Regions from separate parts of the Homo sapiens genome. Here regions 1, 3, 4 and 5 are each linked to region 2. The links are contacts of gene promoters, found by promoter capture Hi-C in blood cells and fetal thymus (Javierre and others, 2016). All regions are on one chromosome and are shown on one strand. The core of a region is centred on a gene start or on the middle of the fragment in contact, and the rest is flanking DNA. Distances in the headings are between cores, read along the strand shown.

What was found. The method cuts DNA at HindIII sites, captures the fragments that hold promoters and counts their contacts. A CHiCAGO score of 5 or more calls a contact.
Region 1: a fragment that was not itself captured here is called in contact with the fragment with the promoter of CBX2 in region 2 in 1 of 17 cell types (neutrophils); the score reaches 5.3 in neutrophils.
Region 3: a fragment that was not itself captured here is called in contact with the fragment with the promoter of CBX2 in region 2 in 17 of 17 cell types (non-activated CD4 T cells, monocytes, M0 macrophages and 14 more); the score reaches 18.5 in non-activated CD4 T cells.
Region 4: a fragment that was not itself captured here is called in contact with the fragment with the promoter of CBX2 in region 2 in 2 of 17 cell types (M1 macrophages and M0 macrophages); the score reaches 5.8 in M1 macrophages.
Region 5: a contact is called between a fragment that was not itself captured here and the fragment with the promoter of CBX2 in region 2, in 10 of 17 cell types (M2 macrophages, total CD8 T cells, monocytes and 7 more). The highest score is 7.9, in M2 macrophages.

Annotation. Positions count from the first base shown.
Region 1 is chr17:80,016,993-80,019,692 of GRCh38, reverse strand. All of the region lies in intron 1 of TBC1D16 (TBC1 domain family member 16), which reads left to right. Among named protein-coding and RNA genes, the nearest start is that of TBC1D16, 18 kb to the left of the region's middle. The HindIII fragment of the contact is 1,876 bases long and covers 499-2,374 here.
Region 2 is chr17:79,776,781-79,779,480 of GRCh38, reverse strand. CBX2 (chromobox 2) reads right to left here and starts at 1,333. Exons shown (of 5, transcript NM_005189.3): 1 at 1,174-1,333; 2 at 1,054-1,097; 3 at 54-119. The coding sequence starts at 1,245. RefSeq lists an enhancer at 80-673 and silencers at 1,069-1,138, 1,149-1,528. The HindIII fragment of the contact is 13,003 bases long and covers 1-2,700 here.
Region 3 is chr17:79,987,626-79,990,325 of GRCh38, reverse strand. The region is part of intron 3 of TBC1D16 (TBC1 domain family member 16); the gene reads left to right. Among named protein-coding and RNA genes, the nearest start is that of TBC1D16, 47 kb to the left of the region's middle. RefSeq lists an enhancer at 1,608-2,479. The HindIII fragment of the contact is 2,251 bases long and covers 234-2,484 here.
Region 4 is chr17:79,949,079-79,951,778 of GRCh38, reverse strand. It overlaps TBC1D16 (TBC1 domain family member 16), which reads left to right. Exons shown (of 12, transcript NM_019020.4): 5 at 182-329; 6 at 1,201-1,368; 7 at 1,914-2,062. Among named protein-coding and RNA genes, the nearest start is that of LINC01979, 24 kb to the right of the region's middle. RefSeq lists enhancers at 1-291, 292-875, 1,460-2,043, 2,044-2,627, 2,628-2,700. The HindIII fragment of the contact is 4,940 bases long and covers 1-2,700 here.
Region 5 is chr17:79,970,326-79,973,025 of GRCh38, reverse strand. The region is part of intron 3 of TBC1D16 (TBC1 domain family member 16); the gene reads left to right. Among named protein-coding and RNA genes, the nearest start is that of LINC01979, 45 kb to the right of the region's middle. The HindIII fragment of the contact is 7,540 bases long and covers 1-2,700 here.

The sequences.
Region 1 (2,700 bases), core at 187-2,686, 240 kb before region 2:
GTGTTTCATAACTAAAAAAAAGTTTTAAAAAATGGGCCAAGGATTCTCCACTTCTAGTTTGCTGGTGACCAGAGGTTGGGAACTAGGTTGGATTTCGATGAAATAGCCTCTTGCGAAACAGCAAATGCACTTTACAAATAAGGAGAATTGTTTTTAGAGAGCAAACAGTCCTGTCTAATGTTTAATAGACATGCTCCATTTCTCCAAAAAGAGCCCAGTCTCTCCAGAACAATCTGGGAGGGGCGGGGGGGGGTTGTCCTGGTGTCCCAGGTGGCGGGTGATGGAGGAGCCGGAGTTCTGCACGTGGGGGACGAAGGTCTCACGCTGCAGGGTTTCCCGCTCACGAAATGACCCTGAGTGGTCAGAACCTGTCTTCTCCTCCGTAAAGCTGCACTGTTGGGACGCACCTCGCAGAGCCACAGTGAGGTTCTGCCTGTCATGGTATGGGAGAAAATGCTGTATTTTGAACACTTGTATTTCGGAATCTCCTTTAAAGCTTCCAGCACATTCTTTTGATTATCCTCAGTGCTGGCAAAACATTTTCACTTAAAGAGGGTTTTGATTTGGGGAAGCAGCTGAGAGCTGTGTGCAGCCAGCTCTGGCAACTGGAGCGATCACACTGAGTAGAGCCATTTGAAACACAGAAGGAGGTGGGCTCCAGCCCCGCTGCGGCCTTGTCCAGTGTGGACACCGCGCAGGCTACAGAGCACCCAAAACGTGGCTGAGCAGAACTTTGACGTGCTTAAGTGCAAAATGCACAGCAGACTTTGGAGACTTTAAGGACATAAAATAGGCCAGGTGCGGTGGCTCCCGCCTGTAATCCTAACACTTTGGAAGGCTGAGGCAGGAGGATCACTTGAGGCCAGAAGTTCAAGACCAGCCTGGGCAAAAAAGTGAAACCTCATCTCTACAAAAAATAAAAAAATTAGCGGGACCTGGTGGCATGTGCCTTTAGTCCAGGCTATTTGGGAGACTGGGCAGGAGGATTCCTTGAGCCCAGGAGTTTCAGAATACAGTGAGCTGTGATCACACCACTGCACTCTAGCCTGGGTGACAACCTGTCTCTAAAAAAAAAAAAAGAATGTAAAAGATTTCATTAATAATTTTTTCAGGCTGGGCACGGTGGCTCACGCCTGTAATCCCAGCACTTTGGGAGGCCGAGGCAGGCGGATCACGAGGTCAGGAGATCGAGACCATCCTGGCTAACATGGTGAAACCCCATCTCTACTAAAAATACAAAAAAATTAGCCGGGCATGGTGGCGGGCGCCTGTAGTCCCAGCTACTCGGGAGGCTGAAGCAGGAGAATGGCGTGAACCTGGGAGGCGGAGCTTGCAGTGAGCCGAGATTGCACCGTTGCACTCCAGCCTGGGCTACAGAGTGAGACTCCGTCTCAAAAAATAAAAAAAAAATAAAGAAATAATGTTTTCATATTGACTATATGCTGAAATAATAATATTTTGGATATATTATGCTAAAAATTATTAAAATTAATTTCACTTTTTTTTTTTTTTTTGCTTACCAGAAAATTTAAAATTGTATCTATGTCTCCTGCAGTGTTTCTGTTGGACATGGCTGGTCTAGAGGACGGCGAGCAATTTTCTTGCAGGGCTTATTAACTGACCTTGCAATTCTTGAAGAATTCTTGAATTCTTAAACTATTCTGGATAACATTAGAACAGAACATAGCTTTTCCATGTGATTATTGGGAAGGACAATATGTTTTTTGATTTGTAGTTTGCAGTGTGATTTTTTTAATTAAGTTTCGTCACTTGGTTGTCATATGCCCCTGTGTGGGATGAAGTGTTTAGGCCAAGAGTGGCCAGAAGGCTTCCTGGAGAGGTTGGCAGAGAGCTGGTTTGGATAGGTGGAGAAGAATCCCCTGGATTTGGTCAGATGGTCTATGCCAGGGCACTGCCATCTGCAACCCACAGGCCAAAGCCAGCCTTCCACCTGTTTTGTACAGCCTGTGAGCTAAGGATGGTTTTTACTTTTTTTTTTTTTTTTTTTTTTTGAGATGGAGTCTTGCTCTGTCGCCCAGGCTGGAGTGCAATGGAGCGATCTAGGCTCACCACAACCTCTGCCCCCTGGGTTCAAGCGATTCTCCCGCTTGAGCCTCCCGAGTAGCTGGGATCACAGGCATGCACCATCACGCCCGGCTAATTTTGTATTTTTAGTAGAGATGGAATTTCTCCATGTTGGTCAGGCTGGTGTCGAGCTCCCGACCTCAGGTGATCCGCCCACCTAGGCCTCCCAAAGTACCAAGATTACAGGCGTGAGCCACCGCGCCTGGCCGGTTTTTACGTTTTTTAAGGGGGTTGAAAAATGGAAAGAATTCTTTTTGAGACACGTGAAAAATGATCTAGAATTTAAGCTTGAGTGTCTGTCAGTAAAGCTTCACTGTCACAGTCATGCCCATCATTTACTGTCTGTGGCTGCTCCTGCACTCCAAGGGCCGAGTTGAGTGGTCACGACAGAGACTCTCCGGCCCAGAGAGTCCAAAGCATTTACTCTCTGGCCTTTTGCAGAACAAGTTTGCTGACCCCTGCACCAAGGGGTCGACTTTCTTCTGCAGCCTTCATTGGACATGTTGAGGGAGCCTAAAAAGGGGTGGGCTAGGGAGAGCTGAGTGGATGAGGGCCCTGGAGACGGTTGAGATCAGGCAGAGGGCGTCTGTGGCTCAAGGCTGAGGAGGTGAGGAT
Region 2 (2,700 bases), core at 84-2,583:
AACCAGCCACCGTCCCTCCCCCACACCCTCCCCAGTGCTGTCAGCGTCCTCACTTCTTCTGGAAGGCCAGGAGCAGCCTCGGGTCCAGGATGTTCTCCTCCGGCTCCCAGCTGTTATGTCTGCAAAGCAGAGGACAGGGCAGCATTAGACGCCAGGCTGATGATCACCGCTTTGCAAGGCAGCCCGAGGGGGCTCGCCCTCACCGCTCCTCGACTTGGGCCGATGGCAGTGGCACCGTAGCACCATGGCACTTCTCAAAGTCCAAACCCAGGTTTTGGAGGCTGGCCACCCCCCACCAAGCCAGCACTCTAACCTCAGACCCAAAGGGAAACTGCCGCTCCAACCCCCCAATTAAAACAAGGCCACAAGAGGACTCCCACAGTCTCTGCCTGGGAGAAAAACAAACCCCCATAAAACGCAAAGTTGCAGAGAGGGATTCCCCCAAACCCTGGCCCGGAGCCAGAGGAGGAAGGGAAGGCAGGTCCAGCATGCAGGGAGGGGCACAGGCGCCCAGCCCGAGATCCAGAACAATGTGGCGCGCGGGCCGGGGCACCTCGAGGGGTAGCGAAGAAAGAGCGGGGTCCGGGAAGACGCAGAAACGGGGCCGCGGGAGCAGCTGTGCAGAGAGCCCCTTCCGGGGATGCCAAACACCCTCCCTTCCATTAAAAGAAAGAAAAAAAAAAAGAAACTCTACATCCATCAATAGCAAGCTCAGGTTACAGCGGGGAGAATCTGGCCAAGAGGAGGGGGGCTTGCATCCCGCGCCTCCCTCCCGGCCGGGACGGGGGTTGGGGGGAGCGCGGCGCGGCAGCCGAGGAGGTTCTGGCGCGGGGGGCCGCCCAGCTCTGCACCCGCGGGCGTGTAAACAAAGGGCAACCTCGGGCCGGGCGGCCCCCGCCCCCCTCAGAGCCGGAGGAGCCCGCGGGGACCCCGCGAACTTCCCGCTCTGCCCGCGGGCGCCCCCAGGCCACCGGACGGCGCGGCCGAGGGGCTCCACGTCCCCACCCCCGGGCGAGGGGGCGGGAGGGGGGCGCGGCGTCGCGGGGGACTCACTTGGAGGACCAGCCGCGCCACTTGACCAGGTACTCCAGCTTGCCCTGCGGGGAGAGAAGAGGGGCCGTGAGCCAGACGGACAGCGGGCGGCGGGCGGGGGGCCCGGCGGGCCGCACGCACCTTGCGGAGCCGCTTGCTCAGGATGCACTCGGCGGCGAAGACCTGCTCGCCCACGCTGCTCAGCTCCTCCATGCTGCCCGGCAGCCAGCCCGACCGCGGCGCCCGCCGCCAGTCACCCGCCCGGACCGCCGCGCGCCCCGCCGGCAGCACACAAAGCACCGCCCCCGCCCGGCGCCGGCCCGCCCCGCGCACGCGCACCGCCGCTCCGCGCCCGCGCCCCGGCCCGCCGCCCGCCCCCGCGCGCTGCCCAAATCCCGTGCGGGCCAATCAGCGAGGGGGGGCGGGTGCGGGGCGGGGCGGGGCGCGCATTGTCCGCGGCGGGCTGGGCCTCGCGCTCCGGCGGGGGGTCCCGCGCGGGGCCCCGGGCGGGGGCGGGGGCGGGGGTGGGGGCGCGGGCGGGCCCCTGGCTGGGGGAGGAGGTGCCTAGGGACTTCGGGCCTGGGGCGCCCACCGAGTCCCGCGTGATTCCCGGGGCGCGCCCGCCCTTGCTCCCAACTCCGTTTTCCGGGCAAAAAGCCATTGTTCTGGCCCGAAGGGAGGGAAGCGGGACGGGGCGCGGCGGCTGCTTCCTGCCCCCGCCTTCGAGGGGCGCTGCTCCGGGGCACGCGGGGCCCCACCCTTCCCCCGGCTTCTTGAACTGGCTTTTCCTCGGCAGCGGGGGAGTCGCTCTGTTTTGGACGAGAGCAAAACGGGTCGGGGGCTGGGGAAGGAAAGGAAGACGAAGTCCGGGGGAGGGGCCCACAAACCCCAGCAGCCGAGGCTTTTTCCCCCAAAGGCGAGAGAGGAAAATGCTTTAACTTAAACCACCAAGCACTCTGAGAAAGAAGTAATACGAACTGCCCGGAGTTCTTATTAAACAGCTATGAAAAGTGGATCCAGCCCCCGAGTTTTAGGGCACGTGTAGGGAGAAAACCAGCTGCACCTTTTCTGAATTTGTTCCCCGATTTTGATGAAATGGAGGGGGAGGGGGCGGTTTGCAAGGCTGTTCCTAACTTCGGACTAGGTCAGTAGTGGCCCGCCAGGGCTGGGCAGCCGGCGTCCTTCGGATCAATTGTCCGCGGCAGAAAAGGGTCAGGCCATGTTATGAAAGTGGGGGTGACCCCTTGTCCTCCCTGTGATCGTCGTCAGCAGGCTACCCTTTTATTCCGGTGTTAAGATTCGAATTCCATGAAGAATCACCCTTTAAGTTATTTAGATTTTGAATCAGGACAAGTCAAACACGTAATGAAAGAGACCTGAGCCTTAGCTTCATTCGTCTCAACGCAGTCTAACTCCATGAAAATTCACTCTCTGCTTTTCTTGCTTCCTTGAACACAGCTGCAAAATTCTCTTTCTGTTGAGCAGATCCAAAAGTCGTTTCTTGTTGTAGGAGACTGTCTCAATGTAATTGTGATCATCAAAACCATATTTATAAAGGGTTCTGCAGGAGAAATGTGTTTTTTTGTTTTTACAGAAAGGCCTACTGGAGAAAATACTGAACTGTAGGAACCGATCTTTCAATTTATGGCGTGTTCTTCAGTTTCTTTG
Region 3 (2,700 bases), core at 110-2,609, 210 kb before region 2:
CTGGCCGGGGGCGTGGGCTCCCACCACCTGGAGCCGGCCCCTCGCTGGCTGGGCGCCCGAGACCCGTCACCGCACACGCCTTGTGAGGGCTACGGCTGCTGTCCACGCGGCTAGTTCAGGCTGAGTTGAAGCCTCCGTCCGAGCAGCTGAAAGTCAAATCTAGTCGTTAGACTCTGAAAGCTGGTTCATGTCAGAGACCTGACATGGAGTGTGGGAAAACCTTGACGGAAGCTTCCAGAGCCTGGCAAGATTAGATCAGGAAGTAACACTTTACCTAGTGAGCTTAGAAAAATAGACTCTCCCTGTTGTCTTCTGGGAACTGGGAAATCTGAGCGCAGGTTTCTGGGCATGGATGCTGCACACAGGCCTGCCCCTGGGGGTGGGCAGCAACACCCCAGCCACCCCAGGAGGGTGGGGACCCCTCGGCTGACTTTTGGGAATCCAGAGGGGGTCATTACAGAAGGGCTGGCGCTAGAGTGGCCATGAGGGTACAGTGGGTCCCTCTCCGCACCCCTTGACCCCAGTCATCTTTTCAATACCGTTCTCTGGTGGGACTTGCGAGGGCCGATGCTGAGGCTGCTCTGCTTGTGCAGAGAGGACATTCGTGTATTTGAGGATGTTCGTGTATTTGAACAAAGGTTGTAGTGTCTTGGCCTCTCGGCCTTTGGCATTGCCAGGTATCTGGGCAGAACCAGCTAGAGCTGCTGGAGAATACATGAGCAGTATCTAGAACAATTCCGAACTCCACAAGGCCAGTTTGCCATGCCAGACTGTTGGGAAGAGGCAACGACAACTCGTATTTATGACTCTGTCCATGGCAGGCAAAGCGAACCGTGGCTTTTCATCCTGGAAATACCCCAGCACAGTGTTTTTGTGGGAGCCTGTTACTCAAAGCAGGCACAGAGTGGAAAAGGGCCCGATCAAGGCCACAGTGTGGGAGCTGTCAGAGCAGGGCAGGCCCGAGGCCCAGGGCTCTGCTGAACCAACCACCAGTGAGAGGGGCTTTGATGCGTCCAGTGATAAAACCCGTCGGGCAGGTCCTGGGAGGGATTCTGGCTTTGGGGACTTTGCTGTGCTTAAGTCATGGGCAAAAGTTCCTGCGCTGGCCAATTTTGTTTTCATCGAATGTGGGGATCCCTGTTCAGGGGGCACACGGTGCTGCATTTGAGGGTCTTGAGTGGTCCTCCACATTTGGGGTGTCCTTTGGGCCATGTGGAGCCCTGAGAAGGATTGACAGGTGTTTGGGAGTTTGTGTTTGTATCTTGGACGATGGAGGAGTTTCCCTAATCATGGTGTTTTTTCAAGTTAAGAAACTTCCTTTGGAGAAGCCGTTTTCTCTTTTACTGATGAAAGGCTTCTTCTCGGCAGGAGGACTGAAGGTGCTGGGTCCTGAGGGAGGGCCTGGGGCCGGCGGGCAGGTGCGGGTTGGGGAGGGTGGCACCGTCCAGCCCAGCAGAGCCCAGAAGACGGGACCAGGCTGAGGACTTCCACGGGGCTGGCCGGGCTACACAGCACCATGCTTAGCGGGATTGGACTTTGATTTTCTGTGGCTCTAACTGATAAAACAAGCAGGGGCCTTCTAAGTTTTGCTTTGAGGTTGACTGCCAATTAAAGAGCCAACATCTGGTGCATAGGACCCTCCAGAAAAAGTCTTTTTGCCCTTAATGTTAATTTTTTCCCCTTTGTTGGAGTTGATTTGTTAAGTTGCTGGTGTGTGTTGACAACTGTTTGGTACAGAACGCAGGCACGTGCGTTCACCAGGACCCTGGCTTGCCGAGCGGGAGGTGGTCGACTGTGGACTCTGGGCGCGTTTGACTTTCAGCCATGGTCTTATGATTGGGCAGCTTCCGTCCGGTTGCTGCCCCCTCTGCCCCTTGGGCATACGCCCAGTGGAGCTTGGACCTGACTCATAGCTCTCTACAGTCGACAAAAGGAAAATGTTTCAGTTTGGGTAAATCAGCCACAGCTGGAGCCAGGGAGAGGCCCATGGGCTGGTGACTTTTCAGGGTGGTGGTGTTTGTTCAGCGTGTTGTTTTGCTCTGTGACTTTGGAGAGTGCATCAAAGGCTCGGCGGACGCCCACTTGCCGAGGAGCCACGGCCCTGGCTGGTGGCCAGGCAAGCACCTCCCAGGTAGGCGTCAGGGGAAGCATCCAAACTAGTAAATAAAACGGCTTCTGGCAGGACGTGCTATCATCCCCCTCTCCCTTCTAAACACACACACGCTTTCACAGAGAAGAACTTAGAAGTATTTCGTTTGAATCAGAAGGAAATATTGAATATCGTCTCATTCTCCCCCACCTAATTTTTTTTTTAAACCACATTCAGAATTGCTGGGCAACCTCATTTCCCCACATTTAGGATTCTTCCCTCGAAATCTCATGCAGGCGTAAAATCCGAGAGCCTCGGAGGGTTTTTCTGAGCCTCTGCATCTCCCAGCACCCCGCCCCCACCCAGCACTCATGTGTTTGTCTGCTTTAAAAGCTTCAGGATGGGAAATTCCTCACCAGCCCGTAAGCCGCTGTTTGTAGGAGCCCCTAAACTCTGTGGAACCCAAATCTCCCAGTACTGACTTAATTCCCTTTTCCCTGAGAACCAGCTCCCTGCAGCACCCAGGGTTCTGCCCGCAGAGGGAGGCTGTGGCTGGGAGTGGAAAATGCCCAGCCAGGGGCTACCTTCATGGGGACATTCCCTACCCCCAT
Region 4 (2,700 bases), core at 81-2,580, 170 kb before region 2:
GGGGGTGGTGGTTTTTGTTCGGTGTAGTTCTGTCCCCTCCCGCTAGCAGCCAACTCCACTGGGACTCACTGTTTCCTGCTTCTGAGGTTGGCGACAGTGGCCTCTGATTATACTTGGAAATAAAACCCCCGTGTTTACATATTCATCGGGCTTCCCTCTCCCCCTTCCAATGGCCCTTCAGCGACGAGGCCTGCACCAGCGGCCAGCTGGTCGTTGCCAGCCGAGAGAGCCAGTACAAGGTTTTCCACTTCCACCACGGCGGCCTGGACAAGCTGTCTGACGTGTTCCAGCAGTGGAAATACTGCACCGAGATGCAGCTCAAAGACCAGGTAGCCCAGCAGACGGCCCCAGAATGCCCAGCGGTTGACACTCCCCACCCCCCACGGGCCCCATCTCCCTCCTGGGTCCTGTGTCTGGGGTCCCCGGGCCCCGGGGGCTTACGGGGTGTGACCCACGGTAGTTTTTGGCCGTCAGAGCAGCAACTTTGGGTTTGAAACCTTTGCCCAGGGCTTTCGGTAAAGTCAGTGCCCTGCACTTGAAAAATCATGTTTTGACAAGACTTCCTGCCATATTTTGCTCAATCTACGTACAAATGTAATAAGAGCTCTTTAATTATCTGTTTAAGGTACTGTATGTGCTTATTAGAAATGGGGCCGATTTTAAAATTCCCTTCCTTCCCGCAGAGCCTCCTGCTGGCTTCCCTTATTACAGTAGCATGGCTTTTTTTCCCCCTACATTGAACAACCTTTGATTTTTGAATTAAATGTCAGCTGCAGTTTTGCCCTGGATTCGTGACTGCTCGCGGAGGCAATCTGACAGGCTGGCTCCCTGCTCGCAGAACAGCGATCCCTTTGTATGTGGCCAATCACATGTAATTCATTGCAGGCCCTCCCGGCAGAGGGAAGTTAGGCCGAACGAGGCATTCATTCCGTTTTTGCGGCTGGGGTTGGAGAGAGTGGGGGGCGGCGGCACAGTGGGCCGGGGAGGAGAGAGCCGCAGAGGGAAACCGATTTTAAGATGAAGGTATTTTCATTTTAATTGCGCCTAATTACACTCGCCATTTAGGGGTTTGTATGCAGGGGACGGCCCTTGCCCTCCTTTCAGAAGAGAGAGAGGCTTTTATTCCTGGGAAAAGCACTGCTGGCCTCTGAAGCCGCGCGGCTGAGATCCTGACCTTTGCCCAGTTTTCCTCCCGTCCAGCAGGTCGCCCCCGATAAGACATGCATGCAGTTCTCCATCCGCCGCCCCAAGCTGCCGTCCTCCGAGACGCACCCCGAGGAGAGCATGTACAAGAGGCTCGGCGTCTCCGCCTGGCTCAACCACCTGAATGAGCTGGGCCAGGTGGAGGAGGAGTACAAGCTGCGGAAGGTGAGGTCCGGGTCCGCCCAGCTGGCCCCGCGGAGAGCCGGCCGGGAACCGGGAACGAGCGAGAGGGAAGGAGGGCCGGGGCCTGGCCGCCCGCCCGCACCCACGGGCCACCTCCTCGTGAGGGCCCCGTTTTCTTGTGTGAGGCTCTCTGTGAACACACCGATAAAGCAATCAAAGCTGCTGCGTTGAAAAAAAAAAACAAAACACAACACCTCCCTCGAGGGTTTGGGGGGATACCGTGTCAGCCTGCATAGAAGGGTTTGCAGTGAAATGCAGCATTTCCAAAACCAGGGATTAGGCCATGACGTGAGAACGACACGTTAATCTGAGCGCCACCCCAGGGGGGGCATTGACATTGAAATGAGCCGGGTTTGTGTCCTGTATGGGAATTGAAGGCCACTGCTTTCCCCTTGTAAATATGTGCAAATTGCAGAGATCTGAATCAAGGCGCACCAAAAACCACCAAAACACACATCTCTGGGGATTTGGGGGTTCTTTGAGCTGCCCCATTTTATCCCCTCCCCAACTTTTGCCGCTTCCTCCAGGCCATTTTCTTTGGCGGTATTGATGTGTCAATCCGCGGGGAGGTCTGGCCCTTCCTGCTGCGCTATTACAGCCACGAGTCCACGTCGGAGGAGCGGGAGGCGCTGCGGCTGCAGAAGCGAAAGGAGTACTCTGAGATCCAGCAGAAAAGGTAACCGCCGGGGCCAGCCCGGCCCACCCCGCCGAGCCGCGGAGGAAAATGTCATTTGAAAAGGCAATTTGAGGTGCAATTCAGCATTGATAATATGTTTCGTGACCCATAGTTTCTTTCAAAAATGGGTCTCCCAGGAACGTGAGTGATAGGGTGGGATAAGTGCAGTCATTAAACCAAGCACTCGGGCCTCGGAGCTGCGGGGCTCGTTAGCTCACATGTCAAGGTTTTAGAATTCTCGTTCAACAGACTTAACTAGGCGCTGACGTCCCACAGCTGAAGGCTGGGGCTGGGAGCAGGGCCTGGAGGGGTGAAGGCATCCGGAGACTGTGTCCCACTTGGGATCTGCTAACCCGGGACTGGGCTCAGCTCTCTCTCCAGGAGGCTGGGACTGGGTGAAGCCCCTGGGCTGTGCTCAGCTCCCCTCCAGAACGCTGGGCCAGGGCCAAGGCCTCATTACCCACTGGGCTGCAACTTGCTCTCCTTCCTGGGACGCTGGAGACTGTGAGGCTGAGTTAATATCAAGGAGAGCCTTGGATACACGCCACCCATCCGCCGCATCCGGGGAGGGTCTGCAGCCGGCAGCAGCCGCCCAGCTCCCGTCCAGGGAACGGGGGTTGGGAGGAAGGGTGGCTTCC
Region 5 (2,700 bases), core at 49-2,548, 190 kb before region 2:
ACTGCAACCTCTGCCTCCCAGGTTCAAGTGATTCTCCCGCTTCAGCCTCCTGAGCAGCTGGGATTACAGGTAGGCACCACCATGCCTGGCTAATTTTTTGTATTTTAGTAGAGACGGGGTTTCATCATGTTACCCAGGCTGGTCCCGAACTCCTAAGCTCAGGCGATCCACTCCTGCCTCGGCCTTCCAAAGTACTAGAATTACAGGTGTGAGCCACCGCACCCAGCCTTAATCATTTGTAAGTGCACAGTTGAGTGGCAGTGGGTATATTCACATTGTTATGCAGCCATCACCATACTCTCCACCTCCAGAACTTTTTCATCTTCCCAACCGAAACTCTGTTCCCGTTAAACAACTCCCCATCTCCTCTCCCCCAAGCCCCTGGCAGCCTCTATTCTACTTTCTGCCTCTGAGATTGACTGCTCTGGGGACCTGATAGGAGTGGAATCATGCAGGGTTTGACCTTCTGTGTCTGGCGTCTTTCACTTAGCGTAACGTCAGGTGTCATTCATGCTGTAGCCTGTGTCAGAATCTCCTTCCTTTTTAGCAGGGCGCAGTGGCTCACACCTGCAATCCCAGCACTTTTTTTTTGGGAGGCCAAGGCGGGTGGACCACGAGGTCAGGAGTTCGAGACCAGCGTGGCCAACATGGTGAAACCCTGTCTCTACTAAAAATACAAAAATTAGCCAGGTGTGGTAGTACACGCCTGTGATCCCAGCTACTCAGGAGGCTGAAGCAGGAGAATCGCTTGAATCCGGGAGGCGGAGGTTGCAGTGAGCCAAGATTGAGCCACTGCACTCCAGCCTGGGTGACAAAGCAAGACTCCCTCTCAGGGGGAAGAAAAAAAAAGAATTTCCTTCCTTTTTATAGCTAAATAACCTGCCATTGCATGCAGGGACAACACTTTCTTTCTCCATTCACCCATCGATGGACACTGGGCTGCTTCAGCCTCTGGCCATCATGAATGATGCTGCTGTGAACACGGGGTACACATACCTGTTCGAGTCCCTGCTTTCAGTTCTTTTGAGCGACCCTTTTTAAAAATCAATGCCAGGGCCGTTTTCAGAGCACTCCGACCTGTCCTCCGCAGACCTTCCTTGTCCCTGCACCCACTCAGGCTCTTTCTTCCCCACAAAGACCCCCACAGCCAGCCCCCATGCCACCTGCTCCGAGAGGAAGCCTTCCAGAGCCCCCATCCCTACCCCGTGGGATGCTCCTGTCTGACACCTCCCAGCAGCTCACAGTCCAAGTGGTGTCCAAATTATCCACATCCTCAGCTCACCTCCTATGAGGTCCATGTCTCCTGGTGGGTCGGGCACCAGCTTCCTCAGGTCTTCCTTGAGAGAAGTTGACTGTTGTAGAGAAGAGTGATTGACTCTACTTTTATGAGTCAAGTTGAAGAATACGTTAAAGACTCTTCTTTTCTAATTGCCCCTGAGCCATTATTCCAAAATGGTGTCTACCAGCAACATGGGAAGATACCTTCAAGTGTGTGTAAACCTGCAGAACGAACTTTGGAAGAAGAGTCACTCAACTGCTGACCAGGATGACCTGGGGGACAGGGCTTCCAGACCAGGATGACCTGGGGGACAGGCTTCCAATGCCGATTCTGCACACTTCAGTCTTTTTAAAATTTTTAACCACAACGTGAATTTATTTACCACTTGCAAATGTTAAGCAACTTAAAAAATACTGGGAGTGTGGGCCGGGTGCGGTGCCTCACACCTGTAATGCCAGCACTTTGGGAGGCCGAAGTGGGTGGATCACCTGAGGCCAGGAGTTTGAGACCAGCCTGGCCAACATGGTGAAACCCCATCTCTACTAAAAATACACAAATTAGCCGGGCTTGGTGGTGCACGCCTGTAATCCCAGCTACTCAGGAGGCTGAGGCAGGAGAATGCCTTGAACCCGAGAGGTGGAGGTTGCAGTGAGCCGAGATAGCGCCACTGCACTCCAGCCTGGGCAATGGAGACAGACTCCATCTCAAAAAAAAATAAAAAATAAAAATACAGGGAGTGTATATTAATGTAAAATTATTTACAATATGAGATCACTTCCATTCCCACACTGGGAGGAACGTAAAACTCAACAATGCAAGAGCAAACTGCATCTCTGTTTCCAGAGGGTGGCGCTGTTTTTGCACCGGGCTGACTCTCCGTTTCCAGGGTGGCGCTGTTTTTGCACTGGGACTCGTACAAGGACTGGTGCTTTCTCTGATGTGCTTAGCTTATTTCAGGCATGCATTTCCCCTGGGCTCTCTGCTAGCTCTTCACCTTTCTGCAGGCTTCACTGAGGACCCCCAGGTCCACCTCTCTAGAGTGGCCGTGCCCAGCCCCTCCACCTCCCACCCTGTGCTCATTCCCTTAGAGCACCCCATGACCCGTTTACCGTTTGCTGCCTGACTTCCCACCACAATGAAGCTCTACACAGGTGGCAACCTTGTCTCGTTGTCTGCAGGTTGAGAGGGTGGGGGACACCCAGAACTTTTTATTGCAGAACAAATATTTTCTGAGGCCATGCTTTGTACAAGACCCTTTGGTGGGAGATGTACAAGATAAATCAGACGGGAGAGAGCGGGTGCATAGTGACCTTTTATTCACATAGCATAAAAGTCACCCTTTTAAAGTGTACAATGCAGTGGCAGTTAGTACATTCATGAAGCTGTGTAATCACAACCTGATTCCAGAACATTTTCATCCC